Regions from separate parts of the Homo sapiens genome. Here all the other regions are linked to region 5. Evidence: promoter capture Hi-C in 16 types of primary human blood cells and fetal thymus (Javierre and others, 2016). All regions are on one chromosome and are shown on one strand. The core of a region is centred on a gene start or on the middle of the fragment in contact, and the rest is flanking DNA. Distances in the headings are between cores, read along the strand shown.

Region 1 (4,231 bases), core at 233-2,732, 260 kb after region 5:
GAGTAGATACAGAAATTTTTTTATTATTATTGCAGTTTAAAATTATACCAAAATTAAAAGCTAAACAAGTATTACCATGCCCATAAATTTATTTTACCTGGGAAACTTGGCACAATTTCCCAATATATATGTGCAATATAGCGAATCAGCTTTCTTTTACTCCTTTCTCAAAATAAATTACCCTATCTTGAATGGATACTTGCAAATTGAACCCAAATAACTCATGTAAGCTGAAAGTATAATTTCTAAAATGTGAATTGCACAAAGTTAGAAATGCTTAGATGTCTACCAAGGACATGACATACTATTGTATATCACAGTAAATTCATGGCCAATATCCCTGCATTGTATATTTTAGGCTTTCAATACACACAGAAAGCTGAAACCACATAAGATCTGAACATGATCAGTGCAAATGGATATACAAGAAATAATACAAAAAGATTTTTTTAAGACTCAGATTTTCATAAGTTTAACATTAGTTCTGAATTCTTGAATTTTATCATTTCTATTTCTGGGCAATTGTTACTTTAAACAGCATGCAACAAATTATAATAACAGCTTCATAAATAACAACAGTTTACTTTTGGAAAACAATTCTTTAAAATTTTAAATCCAGGAAAAAAAAATTTAGGGAACTTACAGACGTTTGGGACATACTTGACTGCTGTGTGACACTTCCTGTGGGAGATGTAGATGGTCTTCCACTGGACAAACTTGCCTAAAATAGTAAGACTTTTAGAATATGTCGGTAAAAACCTGAAGTTAAGAACTTTCTGGTACCATGATAACACAAAACCACAACAATAAATGTCAAAAGGCCTATGTATGAAACAACTAATTTTATAGTCAACATGGCTTAAGCTTCGGTTAAACAGATTTTTTAAATAAGGAAAAGCTGAATGGTGAAAACAGGGGATCCAAAGACTAATCTTATTTTATTAGCTACTTTATTGTCAGTTTCACTTTATGGGTCTCTGTCATCTTTAAAGTGGAATCACTACTCCAGAGTTATGAAAAAGAAATTAGAGCTACAGCAAGAGCCAGTGAGTGGGTTTCAGTTTCCTAACTTGTATCACAAACATGTTATTTAAAAATTACACTACTAAGAAGCAACAGCTGAGAATCTGTTGGTAACAGAAATAAACCTTTTTCAGGTTCAGTCAATTGAGATCCTCCTCTGGTGAGGGGATTTAAGATTAAATCTTACACAGCTTTATTTAAATAGTACAATAGTAACAAAAATCTTTTTTAAAAACAAGCATTTAATAATGAAATCCTGTTATCAGTAGGAATAATATGATTGGATTTTAGAAAAATGGATATACCTATCTTTGTATAAAAAATTTCTGGAGAAATATGTATTAGATTGTTACTGTGGCCACCTTTGAAGAACGGGAAACAGTGATAGACAGGGAAAAGGAACAGCTTTACTTTATCTCTTATAAACAACTTAATATTGTTTGATTTTTTAATGAGTATAATTACTTATATAATTTTTTTAATCTTATTTTTAGTAAAAATACAATTTATGTAAGCCTAAGTACTCACTGTTGTACCTAGAACTTTATACACATAAACTAGCATAGCATTTCTTCAATCTGGATAAAAAGCACTGAGACAAAAGCTAGAAACAGAGTAACATAAAAAAACATATCCCCTTTTTCTCAATTAACTTCTATTCGGCAACCTATTAATATATTTCCTCCGGGAAAAATAACCACAGGACATCTGAGAACTCTGAAATAATACCCAATCTATTTATTTTCAGTAACTACCTACAGATAACAGAAACTTTGATCTCATAAACTCTTATTTTAGTCTTACCTGAACAGCAGCAAGGCTCTGAAGCTGGGAGCTGCTTAAATGCTGCTGCTGAAGAGCTGCAGTATGCAGCATCAAGTGCTGTTGTTGGGCTGCATACATTTGCTGAAGGTACTGAGCAGCTGAGCTGGGGGGCCGATGCAATGCCTGTTGAATTACCTGTGATAAGTCAATTGAACCAATGTCAAACCATAATCTCAACCTTTATCTTAATCAGAAAATCAAAGTATAAAAAAGTGGCAGTTTAAAATTTCACTGCTTTAATACATAATATCATCAAGCTTATTAACATTATTTCTTTCCTAGTTACATATCACTAGAAATCACTAACTTGTACACATTAAAACTACCCAGTGGGCCGGGCACGGTGGCTCACGCCTGTTAATTCCAGCACTTTGGGAGGCCGAGGTGGGCGGATCACAAGGTCAGGAGATCAAGACCATCCTGGCTAACATGGTGAAACCCCGTCTCTACTAAAAACACAAAAAATTAGCCAGGCATGGTGGCACATGCCTGTAGCCCCAGCTACTCGGGAGGCTGAGGCAGGAGAATCGCTTGAACCTGTGAGGTGAAGGCTGCAGTTGAGCCAAGATCATGCCACTGCACTCCAGCCTGGGCGACACAGCAAGACTCCCATCTCAAAAAAAAAAAAACAAAACAAAACCCAGTGGACAATTCGCAAAAGACAGGCCAGGCCAACTAAGCATTTCAAAAGATTTTCAATCTCACCAGTAGTCAAAAACTTACAAATTAAAACAAGATACTGTTTTCCAACTTTCAGATGGATAAAGATTTAAAAGAATACTACTACTACCTGGGGAAACCAATACTCCCATATTGCTAGTAAAAATTCAAGTTGGCATAACCTTTTTGGATAAAACTTCGTAGAATTCAGGGCTTGGGTGTGGAGAGAAATACCTTTACCATGCAACCATAACAAATAGTAATGTAGATCAGTGCTGTCCTATACAGTAACAACTAGTCACATGTGCCTACTGAGCACTTAAAATGTGGTTAGTGCAACTAAAGAATTGAGTTAATTTTAAATTGAATTTTAATTAATTTTAATTTTAATGTAAACAGCCACAAGTAACTACTGGCCACTATAGTGTACATTGCTGATACCGATCTATATTTACTAACAAAAAGAAAATCAGTGGGTTACAAAATAGTATATAGAGTAAGATACCATTTTTATATTAAAATATTTGAAAGAATCCACAGGAAAACTTTCAAAGACCACTGATGGGTAGCTAGATTAGAGGTGATTTTTAGCTTCTACTTCATACTCTTCTATAGATGTCTGAAAATCTTACAATGAGCAGGTATTATTAATAATCATATAAAATTACAAAGCAGCTGGGCAGGTTGGCTCATGCCTGTGATCCCACCACTTTGGGAGGCCAAGGCAGGCAGGTCACCTGAGGTCAGGAGTTCAAGACTAGCCTGGCCAACATAGTGAAACCCTGTCTCTACTAAAAATACAAAACTTGGCCAGGCATGGTGGCATGCACCTGTAATCCCAGATACTCAGGAGGCTCAGGTGGGAGAACTGCTTGAACCCAGGAGGTGGAGGCTGCAGTGACCAGAGATCATGCCACTGCACTCCAGCCTAGACGACAGAGCAAGACCCCATCTCAAAAAAATAATAATAATAAAATAAAAATAAAAAATAAAATTATAAAGCTATTTCTTCTTTAGAAAATTACTCAATAATTTAAAAAATTTTTAAATGTCAAATACCTTGTTTTGCTTCAACATTGAATAAAACTATTCTTACTTAATTCCTTAAAAAGTGTTAATTACTGTGAATATTTGTTAGTAAAATGTAAAATCTGAGCCTGAAACTTCATAAATAAATATAGAAAAGTCAAGTACTCTACTAAAATCAGAGAAAATTCTTACATTTCTCCAAAAGGTTAAGTCAGAATAAGTCAATCCTATACAACCAAATCCGAAAGTCACATTGTGCTCACTGTGACTCTGAAACAGCACAGAACCCTAATCGCAGCATCAAACCAGAGTTTTCAAAGAGCTAAGGGAGTAATAGTGCCATAATCCTATAGCTTGAGGGTCTCTCAGGACATCTTGAGCCATAATGCCATGAATCCTTTTATCTAAACTTCAAGACAGCATATTTCTGTGTGTTATTGTTTATTTTCATGTGTTAATATCTCACCTCTCCAACTATAGACTACTATGCCTGATACAAATTTCTGTCACAAAATCAATGGGAGCTTTTGACCTCTACCTGCAGGGGACTATAGGCCAGCATTAAGTGATTCAGAATTATAACAATATACCTTTTTTAGTCAGATCAATCTCTATTTGTTCTTCTAATTCCATAACAAAATTCTAAAAGCACTGGACTGTATACGGAAAAAAATTCTAAAATCAAACTGAAATA
Region 2 (4,560 bases), core at 1,666-4,165, 310 kb after region 5:
GGAAGCCCAGTCATTTCCAGGACCTTCAGATGCCCAAGCTGGATCCAGGTTTTCCACCCCGACAGCTCCAGGGAGCACGCTGGAGAGACAGACTTCACCAGCGGGAAGGCGCGGCACCCTACGCGCAAGGAACCTCAAGTCCCAGAATCCTATGAGGACTCCAAATCCCAGAAACCTGCACGCAAATCTATCCCGGGTGCCAAGTCGGCCGACCGCAGACGTGACCAAGTTGCGAGGCTAGGGTGAGGTGTCGTAGAATTTGTCCCTACCATTGTCCCTGCAGGGAAGAGACTTTAGTGATCTAGAGCTGGTCATTGTCTCTTTCACAGCTCGCGTGAAAGCACCCCTCTCGGCGTGTTTGATGCCATGATCAGCGTCTCCCATTCCCTCTGTCCCCTTTCTCTGCCCCCGTAAGGATGGTTCAGCCCGGTATTGAGGCTCCTTGAGCTGGCTGGATGGTTGCGCCCGCCCTACCCCGGAATGTGGGCCTTTGGAGCGAGCGAAGTGGGAGGGACCGACGCAGGAGGTGTCTTGGGCCCGGGCGGCTGTAGAGGCGGCGGCGCCTACGGGCAGTGGGAGGAGCCGCGCGGTTCCGGCTGCTCCGGCGAGGCGACCCTTGGGTCGGCGCTGCGGGCGAGGTGGGCAGGTAGGTGGGCGGACGGCCGCGGTTCTCCGGCAAGCGCAGGCGGCGGAGTCCCCCACGGCGCCCGAAGCGCCCCCCCGCACCCCCGGCCTCCAGCGTTGAGGCGGGGGAGTGAGGAGATGCCGACCCAGAGGGACAGCAGCACCATGTCCCACACGGTCGCAGGCGGCGGCAGCGGGGACCATTCCCACCAGGTCCGGGTGAAAGCCTACTACCGCGGGTGAGTGTCCTGGGACAGGGCGGTGGGCGGGAGGGGACAGGCCGGCTCCACTCGGCCTGGAGGAGGGGAGGGTGAGGGGCTGGAGGTGTTGTGGGCGGATTGGGCTGGGCGGGCGGGCGGCTCCGGTGACTCAGGGTGAGTGACGAAGTGATAGGGGTGGGGGCGAAGCAAGGGGATGCAGTACTGGGGGCGCCCCCAGGTATGGCGGTGCGGGGAGCCGAGGGGCCAGAGTAGGGTCCGAGAAGGAAGCTAGGGTTAGAGTAGGTGCACCTGGTGTGGACGAGAGACTCGCCTCCTGAGAGCTTTGTAGGGGCCTTGCATCCTTAAGTCTGGGTGTATTTGGGGTTGCGAGTTGAGGATTCCAAGTGATGCCTTAGTTAACTCAGTTTGCTGTGGGGATAGAAAACGGGACTTCTTCAGTTAGCTGTCCGTTTTGATTACCAGCAGGCCTAACGCCTCTGGTTCTCTGAGATATACCTCCATCCCCGTTGTGTTCACGTAGTGTATCTGCACTGCCAGTATATTAGACATAGGGGTTGTATTTAAGAATCAAGTCGATGCGTTTTCAGGGACGTGCAGTGGGTACTTACGTGTCGTCAAGATTAAGTTGCATGTGTGTAAATCAAAATTTTGTGAGCCTTTCTTTCTCAGTGTTGTTTCAACGACTACCCGATAGGGTGAGATACTGCAAGGTGAGGAGACTAGCCTAGTTACAGTTTTAAATTCTCTGATCTTCACTCCCTTACTATGGTTACAAGAAAAAACCCAGTTCTAAGTTCATTGTGTTAAATCATTTTCTATCAGTGACGCAAAGTGCCCCCCTTCCTTTAAATTCAGTTGTGGTTTGAATTTTTTTTTGAGATAATTATGTTTAGGAGCATTAGAAACGTGAAATGTTAGTGTGACCATAAAGGTTGGAGACTGAGAAGTCACAGAAAACCCAGCTACTTTGGCTTGCCTTACTGCTTGTCCAGGTAGAAGTAAATTGCTTTAAAAAACTCAAGCAGTGCTAGGTTGAAATTTTAATGCATACTTTTACATTCCTGAGAGGATCAGTGAAGATAGCAAACTCTCAAACTACCTCTCTTGTTTTGATTTCAAAGAAAATCTGAGCCCCTAAATGTTGTATTGATTTGATGTAAGGACTTTTTTTTTTATTATTATACTTTAAGTTTTAGGGTACATGTGCACAATGTGCAGGTTAGTTACATGTGTATACATGTGCCATACTGGTGTGCTGCACCCATTAACTCGTCATTTACATTAGGTATATCTCCTAATGGTATCCCTCCCCCCTCCCCCCACCCCACAACAGTCCCCAGGGTGTGATGTTCCCCTTCCTGTGTCCATGTGTTCTCATTGTTCAATTCCCATCTGTGAGTGAGAACATGCGGTGTTTGGTTTTTTGTCCTTGATGTAAGGACTTTTAAATTTGCTGCCATGAAGCCTCTGGCCTCTGTTTATTATTAGCTTGACTGTATGCAGGAGTAGTTTATTGGAGTTATATTGGACAGTATGATAACTTTGTGTTTAAGCAGGTAAAACTGATTAAGGAGGTTTTTATTTTAAATCAGTACCAAGAAACGTGTGGATATTTTTTAAAGTTTGTAGTTGTCACAAGAGCTGTTTTGACTTGAGGATGGTCAGCCATGAACTTTGCAAGGTGAGAAAAAAGCTTCCTTTGCTTTTTTTTTTTTAAACCCTTACCTGTAATTTGATGAATGAGATGTTTCACTTTATTCTTTTATTTTATTTTTGTTTGTTTGTTTTTGAGACAGGGTCTTACTCTGTTACCCATGCTGGAGTGCAGTGGCACAATCTCGGCTCACTGCATTCTCCGCCTCCCGGGTTCAAGCAATTCGCCTGCCTCAGCCTTCTGAGTAGCTGGGATTACAGGCATGTGCCACCACACCCGGCTAATTTTTGTATTTTTAGTAGAGACGGGGTTTCACCATATTGGCCAGGCATGTCTTGAACTCCTGGCCTCAAATGATGCGCTCGTCTTGGCTTCCCAAATTGCTGGGATTACAGGCATGAGCCACTGCGCCTGGCCCTAAGGCTTTCAATAAATTCTTATTAATTGAGATCATCTTCTCCAATGAGTCTATGAAAGGTAAGAAATTAGTGCTTCTATTTTCCCATTTGTATTAGTTTGACACATGTAAATAGGCCCAGTTAGTAAATGAAAATCATTGTAAACTCCTTTGAGAAGAAATCAAAGTCTTGCTGTACTTCATGAATTTAGATAGCAAATTATCTTGGCTTATTGCTCCAGTTATTAAAAAGAAGAGAATAAGGACATACAGCTTCTTTAGTGTTTGACTGCAATTTTTCCAAGACATTCAAGGTAACATTGTCTTTTAAAATCTGTGAAATTTTGCTGCGGCGCAAATAACCTCTTGCCCATTGTATACTGGTCTTTGCTCAATGAAAGCTTTCTAATGGTACCTTCATTTCAAGCCTCATTTAAAGACAATATCAGCACTCTAAATTGTACCAAATTCCTGTCCTCTGAAATTAGATGTTAAGATTATGTGTTTGTATAGTCTAAACTGATGATTGTGGTATTACATAGTCAGCTGCTCATTAATATAGATGAAGCTAAAATGAGTCACGGACAAGGATAGTTAATAAACAGGTTGGCTAACTAGAACACCTACCTGATTTTAAAATAGAAAATCCTTCCTTTATACCAAGAAATGTGAGAACATTCTGCATTTGAAAAAGTTTTCTTTTCTCTCCAATCTTCTGAAGGGCCATTATTACATAGCATTTCCTCTATCCCTCTACACTTTTCTTTTCTTTTTTTTTTTTTTAAATAGAGACAAGGTCTCACCGTGTTGCCCAGGCTAATCCCAAACTCCTGGGCTCAAGTGATCCTCCTGCCTCAGCCTCTCAAAGTGCTGGGATTACAGGTGTGAGCCACTGTACCTGGCTCCACTACCCTTTTCTAACAATATTTCTTTCCAGTGAATGTTGACTCATTTAATAGCCAGCATTTTTTTTAGTGAAAAAATTGCCCTCTCTTTTCAAAGATGTGTATAGTGTTATTATTCTGTTAAGCTTGATCTCAGTGAAAACGTGTAATCTCTCTAGATCTAATAACATTTAATTTTTTTCTAATTTTTATTTTATTTTATTTTATTTATTTATTTTTTTGGAGATGGAGTCTCGCTCTGTCACCTGGGCTGGAGTGCAGTGGCGTGATCTCGGCTCATTGCAACCTCCGCCTCCCAGGTTCAAGGGATTCTCCTGCGGCTGCCTCCCGAGTAGGTGGGACTACAGGCGCCCACCACCACGCCCAGCTAATTTTTGTATTTTAGTAGAGACGGGTTTTCACCATGTTGGCCAGGTTGGTCTCCCAACTTCTGACCTCAAGTGATCCACCCACCTCGGTCTCCCAAAGTGTTGGGATTACAGGAATGAGCCATCTTGCCCAGCCAATTTACATCTAGTTTTTAAGCAAGAGATTAATAGCACTGAAAATTCAATTTTATTGGACACCACATCTTACTTAGATGCCTTTCTCATGGCCTGCACCCGTCTTTTCCTAGCAAGGAAGCTTTTCAGTGAGGGGCCTTCAGTTATTACCTAGTGCTAGTAGTTTGGAGGAAGAGAAACAGGTTTCATTAATTAGTGATAAACTGTCAATGTATGTGCTTATCCTTATATAAAATTACTTGCTATTATGGGATAG
Region 3 (4,621 bases), core at 2,096-4,595, 470 kb after region 5:
TTGTAAGTTTTTTGTTGTTGAGCCCTAGATTTTTTTCTACTAGTGTAAATCTGTATTCCCTCCAAGTATGGTGATAAGGGGACTGAGTCTTATTTACATTTGTACAATCACTACTTTACCTGTTGTATTTGCAGTAAGTCTTTTGAGCCCTATTAAACCTGTCAATTTTCTTGTCCTGTCAGAAAACTGAGATTTTGGCTCAAAAATGGATGTTATTAACAAAGGGGAACAATATAGATGTCTTAGTACAAAGAAAATGAAATGTAAGAGGAGATTGTCTGGAGTTCAGGGGATAGAGTGTCAAGTCTTAAATGGTTACATCTTTTTGCTAAGTGTTACTCAGAATATAGTTACAAATATGGTACTTAAATATCTAGCTGAAATTTGTTTGTCCCATGAGCTTCTCACATGAGTCTACTGGGCAATTTTATGTGAGTTTTGGTCAAAATTGGTAATCTCTTTTATCTTAGTTTTGCATAATTTATTGTTGCCATTTTATCAAATGAGTAGGAAGTAGTGAAGTATTTCAAGAAGATTGCTCAGTGGGGTTTGATACAAGAACTGCCCAGTAGCTGGGCGACATTCAGAGCTCTCTCTCTGAGGTATATAAGAAGAGCCCTGGGAGCTCCTCACTGAGCCTCCTGTGAGTCAGGACATAGCCTTGCAGTCTGCCACTGAAGCAGCCTCACCAAAGCAAAGATTCCCTGCTTTGGAAGGGTGGTGGGCAAGATAAAGTCCTCCAAAGTAGTTATAGATTATTCTTTTTCTGGAGTAAAACTTACCTGCTCAGAGTTGTTACACAGCTGTATAAAGTCCTTAATGCTTTTAATTCTCAGGTGGTTTTGAGGGAAGGAGAAGAGCCTGTGATTTTCCTTCTGTGTATCTTTTTAGTGCTTAGAAATTACTTGCCAAAAAAAAAAAAAAACACGAAATTACTTGCAAGCTGGTTATGGTTGCTTATGCCTGTAATCCTAGTGCTTTGGGAGTTGGAGGTGGGAGGGTATCACTTGAGCCCAGGAGTTCAAGACCAACTTGGCAGCATAGCAAGACCCTATCTCTAAAAAAAAATGGGTATGTGTGGTCCCAGCTACCTGGGATGCTGAGGCAGGAAGATTGCTTGAACCCAGGAGTTAGAGGTTACAGTGAGCCATGATCATACCACTACGCTCCAGCCTGGGTTACTTGCAAACTAACAAAAAATCCCTTATAATTTTGTTTGTAATGCCTAAAGTGTTGATTTTTTTCCTAAGAATTCTTTACTGTGACCTTTATTTTCTGAGTTGTAATATTGTCTGTTTTGGTTAGAAAAAAAAAAGTTTAACCACAGAAATGCATGTTACATATTTGATTTTTACTTAATTGTAATATGTAATATATGTCTTGTTTTGCTTTTACTTGTTTTCAGCTACTACTTATACATGTGTGATAAAGTGGTTGCCCCAAATGTGTCACTTACTTCTGCTGTATCCCAGTCTAAAGAGCTCACAAAGACAGAGGCAAGTAAGTCCATATCAAGACAGTCAGAGAAGGCTCACAGTAGTGGTAAACTTCAAAAAACAGTGTCTTATCCAGATGTCTCACTTGAGGAACAGGAGAAAATGGATTTAAAAACAAGTAGAGAATTATGTAGCCGTTTAGGTAAGTATTCAGAGATTATCTTTCTAAAATTAAATATCTAATGAACACATTTATTGAGCATTTTCAAACAGGCTTTTTGTTTGAGCTAAATTTTCAGATAATTGGAGCTTTTACCTTTAAAAATGCTACCCTTCAAAACTCTGGGTGATTTATTTTAATCTCAGTTGCTATACTTTTCTAGCGTGGTGATAGCTCAGGAGACTGAGATAGATACAGGCTACCTGGCCTCAGACTGCAAGTTATTTTTGTCCGAATTTTTTTCCTTTCCTACCTTTTATTTGCTGTCAGTCTTCAGGAGATCCTTGTTTTTCTTTCCTCCTTTTTTTTTCTTTTTTTGTGACAGAGTCTTTATCGCCTAGGCTGAAGTGCAGTGGTGAGATTGCGGTCACTGCAGCCTCAACCTTTGGGCTCAAGTGATCCTCCCACCTCACCCTCCCTAGTAGCTGGGACCAGAGGCGCACACCACTGTGCCTGGCTAATTAAAAAAAAAAATTTTTTTTTTTTTTTTTGTAGAGATGGTCTTGGTATGTTGCTCAAGCTGGTCTCGAACTCCTGGGCTCAAGTGATCCTCCTGCCTTGGCCTCTCAAAGTGTTGGGATTACAGTTGTGAGCCACCGCACCCAACCTTTATTTTTCTTTCTGATTTGCCATGAACTGAGACACCATTTAATAATAAGAAGTATTATGTAAGTAAGAGTAGTTAGGTATAGAACTCAAGGAAGCTTAGTTATGGAATAAAGCAAGGATTGAAAGCTCTGGGGGCCAGGCATATAGCATAAATGTGGAATATTGACTGGTCATTTAAAAGAAAAATAGCTGGTTACTTACCGTGCCTTTTAAAATACTGTGGATTAAATGAGACATGTCTGCAGATATTGCCTGTGTTACCATCCATATAGCAGCACAGCTTTGCTTAGTGATTAGGCAGTGTGACAGTTACTTTAGCTGCATTGGAACAGTTGGAGGGTCCTCTATTTATTTAAGTTTTTATAGAGAATTGAGATTCTTGGGGGTTTTCTTTTCTTTCTTTCTTTCTTTTTTTTCTTTTTTTTTTTTGAGGAGTTTCACTCTTGTTGCCCAGGCTGGAGTAAAATGGTGAGATCTCAGCTCACCGCAACCTCCACCTCCCAGATTCTCCTGCCTCAGCCTCCTGAGTAGCTGAGATTACAGGCATGCACCACCACACCCCGCTAATTTTGTATTTTTAGTAGAGACGGGTTTTCTCCATGTTGGTCAGGCTGGTCTTGAACTCCTGACCTCAGGTGATCCGCCTGCCTCGGCCTCCCAACCAAAGTGCTGGGATTCCAGGCGTGAGCCACCACGCCTGGCTGATTCTTGGGTGGGGGTTTTCTGGTTTTTTTGTTTGTTTGTTTGTTTGTTTGGAGACAGAGTTTCGTATTTGTTGCCCAGGCTAGAGTGCAACGGTGTGATCTCGGCTCACTGCAATCTCCGCCTCCCAGGTTCAAGTGATTCTCCTGCCTCAGCCTCCTGAGCAGCTGGGATTATAGGCATGCACCACCACGCCCGGCTAATTTTGTATTTTTAGTAGACACGGGGTTTTTCCATGTTGGTCAGTCTGGTCTCGAACTCCTGACCTCAGGTGATCCGCCTGCCTCGGCCTCCCAAAGTGCTGGGATTACAGGCGTGAGCCATCGCGCCCGGCCAGGGGTTTTCTATACATTTATTTTGAGGGTTTTTTGTTTCGTTTTTCTTTTTTAGAGACAGAGTCTCACTCTGTTGCTCTAGGCTGGTGGAGTACAGTGATGCATTCATAGCTCACCGCAGCTTCAAATTGCTGGGCTCATAGTCCTTGCACCTCAGCCTCCCTAGTAGCTAGGACTACAGGCATGTGCCACTGCGCCTGCCTCATTTTTTCATTTTTTTTGTAGAGACAGGGTCTCACTGTATTGCCCAGGCTGGCATTAAGCTCTTAGCCTCAAGTGATCCTCCTGCCTTGGCCTCCTAAAGCATTGGGATTACAGATGTGAGCCACCATGCCTGGCCAATTTTGAGATTTTTAAAACTCAGTTTTCTTCAGATTTAAATATGGTAAACAAAAATTAGTAATGACTATTATGCCATATTTACATTGTATTTTATTTCTTAAATTAATTCTAATGACTTCTAAAAAATTATTGAGATAATTTATATACCATAAAATTTACCCTTTTAAAGCCTACAATTCAGTGGTTTTTAATACATTCACAAAGTTGTGCAACCATCACAGCTAATTTAGTTCCATAATGTTTTCTTTTCTTTCTTTTTTTTTAAGATGGAGTTTCACTCTTGTCGCCCAGGCTAGAGTGCAGTGGGGTGATTTCGGCTCACTGCAAGCTCTGCCTCCCGGGTTCAAGCGATTCTCCTGCCTCAGCCTCCTGAGTAGCTGGGATTACAGGCGTGTGTCACCACGCCTGGCTAATTTTTTTGTATTATTAGTAAGAGACAGGGTTTTCGCCATGTTAGTCAGGCTGATCTTGAACTCCTGACCTTAGGTGATCCACCCGCCTCGGCCCATAATGTTTTCATCACTCCAAAAATTAACCCTATAATCCATTAGGAGTCACTCCCTGATTCTCCCTTTCTCGAAGCCTCTGGCAACCACTAATCTATTTTCTATCTTTATGGATTTGCTTATTCTGGACATTTCATATAAAAGGAATTGTACAATATGTGGCTTTTCATGTCTGGTCAAGAAGCTTATGCTTCTTTCATGAAAGATAATGTTTTCACAGTCCATGTTGTTGCATGTACCAGTACTTCTTTTTATGGCCTGATAAGATTCCATTATGTGAATATACCACATTTTTTTTATTCCTTCGTCAGTCGGACATTTGCATTGGGTCTACTTTTTGGCAATTAAGAATAATGCTGCTATAGGCCGGGCGCGGTGGCTCACGCCTGTAATCCCAGCACTTTGGGAGGCCGAGGCGGGCGGATCACGAGGTCAGGAGATCGAGACCATCCCGGCTAAAACGGTGAAACC
Region 4 (4,482 bases), core at 1,716-4,215, 280 kb after region 5:
TTCTTGTTCCTCTACAGTCTATTCTGCATACAGTACCTTAAGGAAGAAATGTAAACCAGAGTGTCACTGTTCTCTCAAATCCCCCAGTGGCTTCCTGTCCCACCAATATGGCCCTGAGTGATTTTCCCTTGCTCTGTTGGCTGCAGCCTCACTGGCCTCCTTATTTCCCCCCTTAGCACTTGCTACTTCCCCAGCCAGGGATGCCTTTCACACTGACCTCACTTCCTTATTCCATCCAGACCTCTGTTCAGACATCTCCTCAGAGAGCGCTCCTTGACCACCCAACCTAATATGGCCCTCTCATCACTTTTCTTCCCTTATCCCACTAACTTTTCTTCATAGCACTTCAATGCAACAGACATTATGTACATACTTACTTGTTTATTTATTTACTATTCCCACCAACCTCCAGGTTGTAAGCTCCACATTTTGCTCACTGTGATATTCCTAGTTCTTAAAACATTAAGCGCTCAAAAATTATGCATTGAATGAATGAAACTCCTTAACCTCTCTAATCCCCACTTTGCTAATCTAAAAAATGAGAATAATATTTACCACAAAGTTATTGTGAAATTAAACAAAAAATGAAATAATGTATATAAATAGAACATTAAAAATGCTCAATAAGTGTAGCTGTTATTGTTCACTTTTTGTTGTTTTGCCACATATTATTATGCTAAACTAAAGCAAAATAATCCTTCTATCCTATTTCCAAAGGACATATTCTTTAATTATGAGGCAATCCCTAGTTTTGAAAGTTAGCATTATACATTTCTTTAATTTGCATATGCTATATTTTAAAATATTGGGCTTCTGTAACTGAGAATAGATTTTTGCTTGTATACTTCTAATGTATTAAAATAAAAATTTTGGCCAGGCACAGTGGCTCATGCCTGTAATCCCAGCACTTTGGCAGGTCGAGGCGGGTGGATCACGAGATCAGGAGTTCGAGACCAGTCTGGCCAACAGAGTGAAACCCCATCTCTACTAAAAATACAAAAAATTAGCCGGGTGTGGTGGTGTGCGCCTGTAATCCCAGCTACTCAGGAGGCTGAGGCAGGAGAATCGCGTGAACCCGGGAGGCAAAGGTTGCAGTGAGCCAAGATCATGCCATTGCACTCCAGCCGGATGACAGTGCGAGATTCTGTCTCAAAAATAAATAAGTAAAATAAAAATTTTTGGCCAGGTGAGGTGGCTCACAGTAGTCCCAGCTACTCAGAAGGCTGAGGTGGGAGGATCATTCAAACCCAGAAATTCAAGGTTGTAGGGAGCCATGATCGTGCCATTGCACTCAAGCCCGGACGAAAGAGCAAGACCCTACTATCTCAAAAATAAGTAAATAAATATTAAAAATATAAAGCTTTATATCAGTGTCATGTCAAATCTTTTTTTTTGTTAACTCGGTTTTTTGGCCTCCAAAAGTGCTGGCATTACAAACATGAGCCCCTACACCCAGCCCAGAATAAGCATTCTAAAGACCTCTTATTGTTGTAATTGTAGAATTATTCAAGGGCCTCAGCAGAAACCTTACAAGCCAGAAGGGATTGGGATCCTATCTTCAGCCTCCTTAAACTGAGTAACAGTCAGCCAAGAATTATTATTATTATTATTATTATTTTAGACAGAGTCTCGCTCTGTCGCCCAGGCTGGAGTACAGTGGCACGATCTCGGCTCACTGCAACCTCTGCCTCCTGGGTTCATGTGATTATCTTGCCTCAGCCTCAAAAGTAGCTGGGATTACAGGCATGCACCACCATGCCCTGCTAATTTTGTATTTTTAGTAGAGGCGGGATTTCACTATGTTGACCAGACTGGTCTCGAACTCCTGACCTCATGATCCACCCACCTCAGCCTCCCAAAGTGTTGGGATTACAGGCGTGAGCCACCACGCCCAGCAAGAATTTTTTTTTGAGAGGGAGTCTTGCTTTGTCACCCAGGCTGGAGTGCAGTGGCACCATCTCGGCTCACTGCAAGCTCCACCTCCTGGGTTCACGCCATTCTCCTGCCTCAGCCTCCCCAGTAACTGGGACTACAGGCACCCGCCACCACACCCAGCTAATATTTGTATTTTTAGTAGAGACGGGGTTTCACCGTATTAGCCAGGATGTTCTCGATCTCCTGACCTTGTGATCCACCCACCTCGGCCTCCCAAAGTGCTGGGATTACAGGCATGGGCCACCAAGCCCGGCCCATTAAGAATTTTTTTTTAAGGCAGGGTCTCACTCTCTTGCCCAGGCTGGAGTGGAATGGCACGATCATGGCTCACTGCAACCTCAACCTCCCTGGGCTCAGGTGACCCTCCCACTTCAGTGCATCCCACCACACATGGCTAATTTTTGTATTTTTTGTACAGATGGGGCTTCACCATGCTGCCCAGGCTGCTCTTGAACTCCTGAGCTCAAGTCATCTCCCATCTTGGCCTCCCAAAGTGCTAGGATTACAGGCATGAGCCACCACGCCCAACCTAGCCAACGATTTTGTATGTAGCAAAACTAAGTTTCATAAATAAAGGAGAAATAAAATCATTTTCAGACAAACAAATGCTTAGGGAACTTGTCACTACCAGACCAGCCCAACAAGAAATGCTAAAAGCTGTTCTAAATCCTGAAACAAAAGGCTGATATGCACTAGAGTAGAACCTCTTGATGGCATAAAACTCATGGGGCATATAAAACAATAACACAGTGAATAAAACAAAGTATCTAGGTAACAAATAACATGATGACTGGAACAGTACCTCACATCTCTCTTTTTTTTTTTGAGATGGAGTCTCACTCTGGCGCCAGGCTAGAGTACATTGGCACAATCTCGGCTTACCGCAACCTCTGACTCCCTGGTTCAAGCAATTTTCTGCCTCAGCCTCCCGAGTAGCTTGGATTACAGGTGCCTGCCACCATGCTCAGCTAATTTTTGTATTTTTAGTGGAGACGGGGTTTCCCCATGTTGGCCAGGATGGTCTCCATCTCTTGACCTCGTGATCTGCCCGCCTCAGCCTCCCAAAGTGCTGGGATTGCAGGCATGGCCTTTTTGGGTTTTTTTGTTTTTTGCAGGGAGGGGACAGGGTCTTGCTCTGTCACCTGGGCTGGAGTGCAGTGGTACAATCTTGGCTCACTGTAACCTCCACCTCCTGGGCTCAAGTGGGCTTCCCACCTCAGCCTCCTGAGTAGCTGGGACTATAGGTGTGCACCATCACACCCAGTTAAGTTTGTGTGTGTGTGTGTGTGTGTGTGTGTGTGTGTGTGTATTTTTTGTAGAGATGGGGTTTCGCCATGTTGCCCAGGCTGCTCTGGAATTCCTGGGCTCAAGTAATTCTTCCACCTCAGCTTCCCAAAGTGCTAGCATTATAGGTGTGAGCCACCACCATACCCAGCCTCAAATCTCAATATTAATGTTGAATGTAAACAGCCTAAATGCTTCACTTAAAAGATACAGATTGGCAGAATGGGTCTAAAAATTGCAAACCAAATATCTGTTGTCTTCAAGGGACTTATATAACACATAAAGATTCAGATAAACTCAAGGTAAAGGAGTGGATAAAGATATTCCATGCAAATGGAAACCCAAAGCAAGCAGGAGTAGCTATTCTTCTATCAGATAAGATAGACTTTAAAGCAACAACAGCCAGGTGTGGCAGTTCACACCTGCAATCTCAGCCCTTTGGGAGGCTGAGGCAGGAGGATCCCTTGAACCCAGGAGTTCAAGACCAGCCTAGGCAACACAGCAAGACCCTGTCTCTATGAAAAAATTTAAAAATTAGCCTGGTGTGGTGGTGTGTGCCTGCAATCCCAGCTAATGAGGAGGCTGAAGTGGGACAATCACTTGTGTGTCGTAGGTTCAGGCTGCAGTGAGCTGTGATCATCCCACTCTACTCCTGCCTGAGCAATAAAGCCAGACCCTGTCTCAATAAATAAATAAGTAAATAGCAACAACAGTAAAAAAAAAAAAAAAAAGGACAAAGAAGATAATTATATAATGATAAAAGGATCAATCCAACAAGAAGATATTACAATCCTAAATTCATATGTACCAATACTGGAGCTCTAAGATTCATAAAACATTTACTACTGGACCTAAGAAATGAGATAGACAGCAACACAATGATAGTGGGGCACTTCAACACTCCACTCGCAGCATTAGACAGATCATCAAGACAGAAAGTCGGCAAAGAAAAAAATGGATTTAAAACTACACTCTAGAACAAATGGACCTAACGGATATTTACAGAACATTCTACCAGAGAACTGCAGGATAAACATTCTTCTCTTCAGCACGTGGAACATTTTCCAAGACAGATCATATGATAGGCCACAAAATAAGTCTCAGTAAATTTTTAAAAAACTGAAATTTTATCAAGTATCTTCTCAGACCACAGTGGAATAAAACTAGAAATCAACTACAAAAGGAACCCTCAGAACCACACAAATACATGGAAATTAAACAATCTGCTCCTGAATGATTTTTGGGGTAACAATAAAATCAAAA
Region 5 (4,466 bases), core at 1,948-4,447:
CTCCTGGCAAACAGACCACGATGATGTCTGTGTCTAAAGCCAGAGCCTCCAGCCTGAGGCAGCATCAGGAGACTCAAAGGGCAGTACATGGGCCCTCAACACTCTCTGATACCCCATCCTCCACTTTCCCATCGCCAGGACACGTGTCATCTCACGTGTCATCTTGGGGAAGAAAGGGAGATGAATTAAAAATCCAAAAGAGACAATTTCATCTTGGAAGAGACTATGTTACATGTGAAACATTGTCTCCTTATATTGTTGAATAAGTTGGAATTGACCAGATTTGACTAAATGTAGTCTTCACCTCTTACCCAGAGAGTAGGATTTTGGAGGGATACTAGATCAATTGCAGGAAAGTAAAAAGGCTTTTCTTTGTACAGAGTGTAGGGCGCAAATTTACAACACTCCTGAATGACTAACAAATAATCCCCAAGGCCATTGCTGGTGGCTTATTGTCACCTGTTCCTCTCTTCCGGTGGAGCTTCTTCCAATTAGTCCCAAAATAGCCAGAGACCTGTGGGCCCTCCCACTCCTCCGCACTGTGATCCCTCTCATTTAGTGGGTAATCACCTCCAGAACTGACTGGTTTGTTTGCAACCGGAGGCTGGCTGAGGTGCCCAAGCAGGAGCTGCCTGCCCCCGGCTGCGTTAGGAACTACCCCTTTAGATGTTGCACTGCGGGGAGAGGTTGTCCAGGAGCAACTGGGGTGGGTGAGCAGTTAGGGGCTCAGGGCAGTGGCTATTTTCCAACCGGTGTGGGAAAATGTCAGTATTTTAACAATCGGCATAGCCAGACTGGTATGCACTAACTGAATACAAGGAAGTTCCTACCTTTTCTCTCCCACTTCCAATCAGCCTCAGACTCTAGAAGCCTCTAACTCACCTCATTCCACCTGCCAGAGTTCCTTCTTTAACACAGTCTCAGCCCCACCATCATAGCAGGAGCTTGTGTGGGGAGTAAGAGGAGTAACAACCGCAAGTGAGGGTCTTGGGAACTCACCGGAGCTGAGTCAGGAGTAAATGTCGTTAATGAACCCCACTGATAACACTGATCACATTTTCCAGAGAAACAGAAATATAAATGGTGGCTCTATGTTGGAATGAGTACCGCTGTTACACTGTTAGATTGATGTTTATGGGCTGGTGCAAACCTAATTACTCCTTATGATGTTGCTTCTATGAAAACAATACATTTATAAGTTTCTGTTGAACAATGTATAAGCAAGTCTTTCAGATACAAGCTCTTCTAATATGAGACTACCAGAGTGATTACAAACAAAGTATATGCATTAGGGCGGGGCGCAGTGGCTCACACCTGTAATCCCAGCACTTTGGGAGGCTGAGGTGGGCAGATCACAAGGTTAGGAGATCGAGACCATTCTGGCTAACACGGTGAAACCCCGTCTCTACTAAAAATACAAAAAAAAAAAAATTAGCTGGGCATGGTGGCGGGCGCCTGTAGTCCCAGCTACTCAGGAGGCTGAGGCAGGAGAATGGCGTGAACCCGGGAGGTGGAGCTTGCAGTGAGCTGAGATCACGCCACAGCACTCCAGCCTGGGTGACAGAGTGAGACTCTGTCTCAAAAAAACAAACAAACAACAACAACAAAAAAAAACAAAAACTGTATGCATAAATATTATAAATGCTAATAATTTATGAGACACTTCAAAATGCATATACAACACAAGAAAGACAGTTTAGTAAAAATTAGGGCAAAGGGAAAATAATGTTAGGAAAAATAAGATGAAGCCATAGATCATTTCTGGTTTTAAAATGCATGTCTAGGCTGGGCATGGTGGCTCACGCCTATAATCCCAGTACATTGGGAGGCCGAGGTGGGTGGATTGCTAGAGTCCAGGAGTTCAAGACCAGCCTAGGCAACATGGCGAAAGCCTGTCTCTACAAAAAAATACAGAAAAAAAATTAGCCAGGCATGCGGTCGTGCACCAGTGGTCCCAGCTACTTGGAGGCTACGGTGGGAGGATTGCTTGAGTCTGGGGACATAGAGGCTACAGTGAGCCATGATTGTGCCACTGCACTCTAGCCTGGGTGGCAGAGCAAGAACTTGTCTCAAAAATAAATAAATAAAAATATAATAAAATGCATGCCTAAAGGCAGGTCCTGAACTTCCTACTAACCAACACAAAGAATGCAACACACTAGTTACGTGATTCCTGAGGTTTTATTTTGGCCTTATTTTTCAGAACAACAACAACAACAATAACAACAACAAAACAATTGTCCCTAGTACTACAAGCTGAGAAAAATTCCTCCCATGGATCCTCAACAGAGGACTCTGTGCAATATAGTTACCTAACATAATGGCTAATGTTTAGTGAGAACTATTCAAGCATTTTGTCTACCTTGTTGCCTTCCCTTTCCCAAGAAGGGCTCTTCTGAGATGAGGAAACTAAGGCTCAGAGAAGTTCAGTAACTTGGCCAGGCCATACAGCTAATGAGTGGTGGTGCTGAGGCTTATTGAGTCTGTTGGTCATCTAAGTCCCTGCTGTTGACCACTGCTTTATGAACAATAACCCTGGAATAAATACAGTCAGTTCCACATGCTATTTCTTATAATGAGTTCAACAGCCAATGATAAAAATGTGTGTCAACAAAGGAGCAGGTTACCTTCAAACTGGAAGCCTAAAGCATTACTTGAAACACAACTTAAATTTCTTATATTCAATTCTTATTTTGTACTTCCTACTAGTAAATTACTAGGAATCAAAAAATATGGATGTTCTTTTTCAAGCTATAAATGTTTCTCTAGCAAATATAACAGGTCACATTTTCAAAATTCCGTGTTTTCCCTCTTATATAGATCACAGCTCTCACACAGATGATAAAGGGTTTTCTCACTGCCTGTGAGAATTAAAGTACAGTTGTCCATTATAGAAGCTTCTTTTTAAAATAGACTGCCATCTTTCATCAAATGTTTCAGCTCTGTGGAAAATAACTTAGGTTTTTTCCTACTCGCAAAAGAAATGTTTCCACTTGAAACCTGTTGGAAATATGGAATAGGCTATATAGTTCCATCAAAGAAAAGCTTATTACTTATTTGCATAGTATATTTCTTTTGTGTCAAGTTGAACAGTGGTATTAAGTGAATGCCCACAAAGCATCTTAAAGGCTAAGGAAGGATTACACTAAAGGCTAAGCTCTGAGACAGGTTTATGCACCTTGCAGGGCACTTTCCTTGGGCTTAACATCTTTTAGCCTATCTGTAGAGGATATCAGAGGGCAAAGTTTCTGTCATGAAATAGGACTAATCAACTTAGTTGAATTTGTATTTAAAGCAAGGTTAAACTGAATTAAGACCATTTTTGAAAGAATTGTCAGATGTACCTTTCAACCCGCAGCCAGAGAAGCTTCTGCAGTTGAAGGCCAGAAAGTCTTTGTATGGTTCTTCCATCTGCAATATCAAAGACAAGAAGTCTTCATAGAGGATGTAAGTATGTAACTCTACACATTGATTAGCCCAAAATTGAGGCCAGTTACTCTGAGTAAAATGTTTCACATATAAAATAAAAGGACATCTTTATCTTAAAGGAAATGCTTAGGTTTATGTGTAGACTTTACTGGCTATTACTAACAGTATGTGAGCTAATAAATTCCTACTTGACTGAAGTTACTAACGAGTAAAGATGATATACCACTCCTACCAAATAAACACTGCCTGGTCTTAGTTTTTGGAGTTTTTTAAGTGAAAGTAAAATGAAGTTTATTTAAGATAAAGTCAGTTCAAAGTTGTATGTAAATTTACTGTAGTTTTATTATCTTCAAACAGATGAAGTACCTACCTCTATGTATTACTGCTGTTTATTTACTATATATTATTATTTTAATGGCCCCCCATTACTATAGATATCTATATTCCAAAAATTGTCATGATGTATGAACCATGAAATGTCAGAGTAGAAAATTTCAGAAAAACATTGAGGAACAATCAATGATAATCATGAAATAAAATCTATATTGATATTCCTTAATTCATTCTTTAAGACTATCTAACTAAAACACCTACTATTCAGTTCCATTATATGAGTACTGCTAGAATTTCACTTTAGTCTCTACAGATTTATATATAATGGACTTTGCTTCACAATCTTTTGAAGAAAGTGAACATAATTTATACAAACTGTAGTTGCACATAAATTATATTGAGTCCAGTAGAAATTACATAATTTTGACTTCTTTAATGATGTCAAAGGTTTACCTTTTTCTTTACAATACTTGTAATTGTGCCTAGAACCTGACATTTCAAGAAGACATGGATAGGTCTAATGAAAATGAGCTTCCAGAGTAAAAAGAAATAAGAAGTGACAGCAGCCAGCACGTAACCCACTGTCTTCAATGCTTTCCAGGGTATGTGCTATGGTGAAATGCAGTTAGAAAAGTCCTAAAGCTTATGCCTTTAGGAAAAGTGAAATACATTTTAGCAGCACTGCCAAGTGCTTCGGTATGAAC

Evidence for each region. The method cuts DNA at HindIII sites, captures the fragments that hold promoters and counts their contacts. A CHiCAGO score of 5 or more calls a contact.
Region 1: a fragment that was not itself captured here is called in contact with the fragment with the promoter of SAMD7 in region 5 in 2 of 17 cell types (total B cells and naive B cells); the score reaches 6.6 in total B cells.
Region 2: a contact is called between a fragment that was not itself captured here and the fragment with the promoter of SAMD7 in region 5, in 1 of 17 cell types (total B cells). The highest score is 5.0, in total B cells.
Region 3: a fragment that was not itself captured here is called in contact with the fragment with the promoter of SAMD7 in region 5 in 1 of 17 cell types (total B cells); the score reaches 6.3 in total B cells.
Region 4: a contact is called between a fragment that was not itself captured here and the fragment with the promoter of SAMD7 in region 5, in 1 of 17 cell types (total B cells). The highest score is 5.0, in total B cells.

What each region holds. Positions count from the first base shown.
Region 1 is chr3:170,170,730-170,174,960 of GRCh38, forward strand. PHC3 (polyhomeotic homolog 3) reads right to left here. Exons shown (of 15, transcript NM_024947.4): 3 at 1,828-1,983; 4 at 644-721. Among named protein-coding and RNA genes, the nearest start is that of PHC3, 8.9 kb to the right of the region's middle. The HindIII fragment of the contact is 1,241 bases long and covers 863-2,103 here.
Region 2 is chr3:170,221,908-170,226,467 of GRCh38, forward strand. PRKCI (protein kinase C iota) reads left to right here and starts at 517. Exons shown (of 18, transcript NM_002740.6): 1 at 517-863. The coding sequence starts at 763. RefSeq lists enhancers at 48-107, 178-237, 248-407 and a silencer at 588-877. The HindIII fragment of the contact is 759 bases long and covers 2,537-3,295 here.
Region 3 is chr3:170,383,128-170,387,748 of GRCh38, forward strand. It overlaps SKIL (SKI like proto-oncogene), which reads left to right. Exons shown (of 7, transcript NM_005414.5): 4 at 1,406-1,638. Among named protein-coding and RNA genes, the nearest start is that of SKIL, 28 kb to the left of the region's middle. RefSeq lists a silencer at 1,390-1,590. The HindIII fragment of the contact is 1,974 bases long and covers 2,359-4,332 here.
Region 4 is chr3:170,189,866-170,194,347 of GRCh38, forward strand. No RefSeq gene overlaps it. Among named protein-coding and RNA genes, the nearest start is that of PHC3, 10 kb to the left of the region's middle. The HindIII fragment of the contact is 3,214 bases long and covers 1,359-4,482 here.
Region 5 is chr3:169,908,375-169,912,840 of GRCh38, forward strand. It overlaps SAMD7 (sterile alpha motif domain containing 7), which reads left to right and starts at 3,198. Exons shown (of 9, transcript NM_001304366.2): 1 at 3,198-3,447. The HindIII fragment of the contact is 322 bases long and covers 3,044-3,365 here.